2 separate regions of the Homo sapiens genome follow, and region 1 is linked to region 2. The links are contacts of gene promoters, found by promoter capture Hi-C in blood cells and fetal thymus (Javierre and others, 2016). All regions are on one chromosome and are shown on one strand. Each heading gives the region's core, a stretch centred on a gene start or on the middle of the fragment in contact. The rest is flanking DNA. Distances are from core to core; before and after follow the strand shown.

Evidence for each region. Contacts are between HindIII fragments. The CHiCAGO score rates a contact against its expected background, and 5 or more counts as called.
Region 1: a contact is called between a fragment that was not itself captured here and the fragment with the promoter of NTNG2 in region 2, in 1 of 17 cell types (endothelial precursors). The highest score is 5.8, in endothelial precursors.

What each region holds. Positions count from the first base shown.
Region 1 is chr9:131,984,021-131,986,720 of GRCh38, forward strand. All of the region lies in intron 3 of MED27 (mediator complex subunit 27), which reads right to left. Among named protein-coding and RNA genes, the nearest start is that of MED27, 94 kb to the right of the region's middle. The HindIII fragment of the contact is 1,143 bases long and covers 844-1,986 here.
Region 2 is chr9:132,160,800-132,163,499 of GRCh38, forward strand. NTNG2 (netrin G2) reads left to right here and starts at 1,259. Exons shown (of 8, transcript NM_032536.4): 1 at 1,259-1,440. It overlaps LOC124902291 (a long non-coding RNA gene), which reads right to left and starts at 901. Exons shown (of 2, transcript XR_007061826.1): 1 at 817-901. The HindIII fragment of the contact is 8,295 bases long and covers 1-2,700 here.

The DNA.
Region 1 (2,700 bases), core at 165-2,664, 180 kb before region 2:
GCCTCAACTTGTCTTTACCCCCTTATGTCACTGTTCCCCATCCTCTGTGTTGCTCTGTCTGGGACACCTACCCTAGAGACCTACACAGCTAACTCCCTCCCCACATTTGCTCAGATGTCACCATTTCAAGGCAGTTTCCCTGACCGTTCTTTTTAAAGTCGCTGCCCACCTCCCACAGGCCCAGCTCTCCTGGCTCTTCACATCCGCCCCACTTTCCCCGATAGCACTAATCACCTCCTCACATTCTGTACATGACTTCTGATTGTTTGTCTTCCATATTCTCCACTAGAATGTAAGCACCACAAGGGCAGGAGTCTGTTCACTCAAGTGCTCAGGGCTCCTAGAACAGTGCCTGCCATTTAGCAGGCACTCAGATGACTATGAACTCAAGATCGACTTGTTTGCCAGGCACTGTTCTAGGCACTGGGGTTACAGCAGTCACCAGAACAAACAGGGTCCCTCCTTCACAGGGATTTGGGCCAAATAACAAAACAAAACACAACATAATACACCCATAAGAGAACAGCGGAACAGAGCGCTACAGAGATCTTAAAAAGGTGTATGATACAAAGTGACTGGGGAAGCTACTTTAGATTGGGTAGTCAGGGAAGGTCCCTCTGAGGAGGTGTCATTTCAGCTAAAAACTACAATAAGGAGAAAGTATTTAAATCTTCCACATGCTTCTCTGATTTTCCATCTTGCTGGTCTGCTGTGAACTCCTGAGGTGAGTCACAGTCCCTGTTTCTCCTGGCGCTTCCTGACATTTATACATTTATGCTGGTATTTTGAGCCTGGGACTGACCTGTTATGGCCTCACTGTGGACTTACATTCTGTCCTTATAAAGCTTCTCTTTGCAGCCATTTATACCATATGCCTTGAGCTCAACCTTATCTAGTATTTCTATTACAAGTCCAGTTTTCTTTTAGTTAGAAATACAGGATCTGTCTTTGTCTAACAGCTGTTTTATGTTGTACATAGCAGGGTTTAATTTTGGGGACAATCTGAGTCTTTTTCCTGTAGTAGATATTTATCTCATTGGTATTTATTGATATTGCAGGTGTGTGGCCTAATTTGGTGGTCTTATGAGACTGTTTTGTTTTATCTTCTTTTATGTCTTATTTCATGTGTCCTGCTCTGGATGCTTGCTTTGGTTCTTTGCCTTTTGCTTTGCGGACTCTAAGTCTTTACTGTTTTCTTCAAGACTCTGGCATCCCCTTTCTTTTTAGTGCTTTTTAAGAATTTTCTTTCAAATTTTACATAATACACTAAAACCTCTATTTCTTAATGTTTAGATATATCTCCTGCTCCCAAATAAGATGAGAAAATTTGTCATCCCAATCTCCTCATTCTATGTGCTTTGTGAATATTTTTGCATTCCCATGTTTTATAACACAGTCAAGTGTCGCATAACAGTGTTTTGGTGAGACCGCATATATGACAGTGGTCCCATAAGATTATAATGAAGCTGGAAAATTCCTATCACATAGTAGCCATGGTAAAGTCACAGCACAACACATTACTCATGTGTTTGTGTTTAAGCTGGTGTCAACAAACCTACTGCACTGCCTGTCACATAGAAGCACAGCCTATACAATTATGTATAGTACAGAGTGCTTGATAATGATAATAAATGACTGTTACTGGTTTATGAATTTACTGTACTATAATTTTAATTGTTTTTTTTTTTTAGCATATACTACTTCTACTTATTAAAAACAGTTGACTGTAAAACATCCTCAGGCAGGTCCTTCAGGAGGGATCCAGAAGAAGGCATTGTTATCATAGGAGATGACAGCTCTGTGTGTTACTGCCTTTGAAGACCTTCCACTGGGACAAAATGTGAAGGTGGAAGACTCTGATACAGATGATCCTGACCCTGTGTAGGCCTAGGCTAATGTGTGCATTTGTGTCTTTGGTTTTAGCAAAAAAGTTTAAAAAGTAAGAAAAAAATAAATAAAATAAAACAAAAATAAAAAATAGAAAAAAGCTTTACAGAATAAGAATATAAAGAAAATCCTTTTGTACAGTTGTACAATGTATTTGTTTTAAGGTAAACGTCATAACAAAAGAATCAAAAAGTTAACAAAATGTAAAAGTTTATAAAGTGAAAAAGTAAGGCTAATTTATTACGGAAGAAAAAATGTTCTTACAGATTTAGTGTAGCTTGAGTGTACAGTGTCTGTAAAGTCTACAGCAGTGTATAGTAATGCCCTACACCTTCACATTCACTCACCATGGCTCACTGACTCACCCAGAGCAACCTGTAGTCCTGCAAGCTCCATGCATGGTGAAGTTCCTGTCCGGGTGTACCATTTTTTATCTTTCTTTTTGGTTTGTTTGTTATAGAGGCAGGGTCTTGCTATGTCGCCCAGGCTGGTTTTGAATTCCTGGCCTCAGGTAATCTTCCCACCTCAGCCTCCCAAGTACTGGGATTACAGGCATGAGCCACTGCACACAGCTCCATTTTTTTTTACCTTTCATACAGTATTTTTACTATACATTTACTATGCTTAGGTATGTTTAGATACATAAATACTTACCATTGTCTTACACTGCCTTTAGTACTCACTATGGTACCATGCTGTAGAGGTTTGTAGCCTAGGAGTAACAGGCTACACCTTATAGCCTAGGTGTGCCGTGGGTTCTACCATTTAGGTTTTTGTAAATATATGTTTGCACAATGATGGAAGAGCCTAATG
Region 2 (2,700 bases), core at 9-2,508:
GTGAGCCCACCCCAGGAGGCCAGGAGTGTCCGAAAACCACATGTGCTTCTGGAAGATGTGGAAACTCTCCCAGAAGCCCTGGGAGGCAGGCTGGCAGGAAACCTCCTGGGGATCAGAGAGCCCAGGGCTGCCGGATATGATATTGTGAACTCGGTGGCCTCTGCCCGGGGCTGCTGCTACCGGAGCCCTCCCACACCTGCCTCCCATGCTTGCAGGGGAGGGAGACAGAGAACCCCTCAGCCAGGCCCCTCCTGCCCCACTACTCTGCACTCCCTGCAGAGCTGGCTTGGCTTCGTCAAAAGCAGGGCCCATCAGGGTGGAGGCGGCGATGTGTCAGCTGGTATTCAGGCTCTGGTTGTGCGCTCAGATCGCTCCCCCTCCCCATCTCCCCAAATCCACCCACCCACCCCGGTACCCACTGCTTGGGGCCTTCTGGGTGGCAGCACTTCACAGAGAGAGACCGAGGAGCAGCCCTGAGCCCTTGGCTGTGGGGGGTGGGGGAACTGACTCACTTGGCCCCCCTCCCTCGTGCCGATGGGGCAGCCCCCACACCCATGGGCGCTGGCACCCCGGCAGGCCCCCGGGTTTTGGAAGAGGAAGCTGCAGCCCGGCTGCGCCTGACCGGAGCCGGCTGAGGATGCGCTCTGGGCGCAGGGACCCGCTGGCCCCCGGGCCGGGAGGCGATGTTTAGGCAGCGACCCCCCAGAGGCTGCCGGGGCCACCCTGGCCACGGGCCCGCCGGGACGCCCCTGCTCGCCGCGCCCCTCCCCGGGCCGTGGCGCGTCCCCCGAGCCGCGCAATATTTCCTTCCTGCACCTTTAAGAAGACCGTTGCTCCGTGGTGGGATGGTGTGTTAAAGCCACACAGAGGAAGTTACGCAGCCCGGATCAGACCGAGAGATAAAAGCCCCGATGGTGATCGTGAGTGATGGCAAGAGGATTTAGCCTCGGCATTAACTTGGAGCGGAGTGCAGGGGGGCAGTGAAGCGCCCGCCATCTGGCCCGCGCCGCGCCGGGGGGATGCCCCGGCTCCCCGACGAGACGCCGCGAAGCCCACCCGGGCCGGGGGCTGCCCGGCGCCCGAGCGCGGGTCCTCCCCGGGCCGCCCAGGGGGGCCAAAAAGTTTGCACTTGTTAGCGGCGACCTCCCGCTCAGCCCGGGCGGGCGATGCGGGCGGCGCGGGCGGCCCCCTCCCCCGGCCCGCGTCTCCGGGACGGCTGCGGGCGGCCCCCCCGGCGGCCGGAGGGCTCCCTGGCCCCGATCTGACGGCGGCGGCGGCGGCGGCCACAGCGGCGGGAGCGGCGCGGGGAAGGAGCAGCGGCTCGCAGCCCTCGGCCCGCGCCCCCACCCAGCGCCAGCCCGAGGGGGGAGGCGCAGCGCCGGAGGGTGGCGGTCCTCGGCCCTCCCAGGTCTCCGCGCCGGGAAGCCGCTCCGAGCCGGGGTAAGGCGGGCGGGGAGAGCCCGGGAGGCGGGCGGGGGGAGAGGCTGCAGCTTGGCCAGGCCGGTTTCATTTTTAAAGGGCTTCGGTGACCATGCAGGCTTGCCCGGGCCCGGGAGCCACTTACAGCGGCCCGGCAAAGGCTCGGATGCAAAAGTTGTTTGGTGGCGGCTGCTACGAGCTGAGAACTGGAGTCGCCCCAGAGGGGTGTGTGAGGGTGCGTTCTTAGCAGCATCTTAAAGGGGTAGCTTGTCTTTCTGGCCAGCTTCCCCCGGGTCCTTTCCGTCGTGTGTGTGAGAGTGTGTGTGTGTGTGTGTGTGAGAGAGAGACAGAGTGTGTGTGTGTGTGTGTGTGTGTGTGTGTGTGTGTGTGTGTGTGTGTCGGGGAGGGATGTTGCAAGGATGCTCGGATGTGTCTCGGAAAAGGAAACTAACCCTGCTCCCGCGCCTCTCCCCCACCCCAATTCCACCGCCACCGCTTAGAGCCACCCCCATCCCGTGCCCTCCCATCTCTCTGCAAACTGGGAGCCTGTGAGTTGCACAGAGAAACTCCCGGCCAGTCCGGCTGGAAACTTCTCCCGGCGCCGGGAGGGGGTCGGGAGGTGAGGGGGCGCAGGCACTGGTTTGGGGCCGGCGTGGAGTCGAACCTGGAACTGAGCGGCGCGCAGGTGGGGGGAGCAGAGGCGGCGGGAAGGCGGGAAGAGAGGACCGCGGGCTCGCGGGGTCCGCCCGCTCCGGAGTAAGTTGGCCGTCTGGGCTGGGGGCGGCGGCGGCCGGGTCGCCACAGGCGGCAGCGCCGGGGCAAAGGATACAGCCAGTTCCTGGGCGCCCTGCTCTGTGTCTTTTAATTAAGAGAGGCAGTGCCGAAAAAGGGGGCGCCTCAGTCCCGGCCGGGCCTTTATTACGGGCTTAATTATTAATTGCTGCCGTGGCTTGCACGCAACTTTGGGAAGACGAAAAGCAGCTGCGGGGCTGCCGGGTCGTCGGTGTCCTAGGCACAGGGCTCGCAGCCGGCCCGAAGCACTGACTCGACCCTGGCCCCGGCCTCGACCCCGCCCGCGGCCCGCCGGGACCCACCCGGGAGCTGCTGCTCGCGCCCCGCCTCCCGCGCCCAACTTTCCAGGGCTCCCGCGGGCGGGGACCCAGGGGCCGGATAAAGGGCCCGCTCCGGAGCGGGGGGACACCCGGGCCGCCGGAATTAAGAGGCCCGCCGAGGCTACAGTGAGCGCGGGGCGCCCGCTGGACCCCGCCCGGGGCAGAGGAC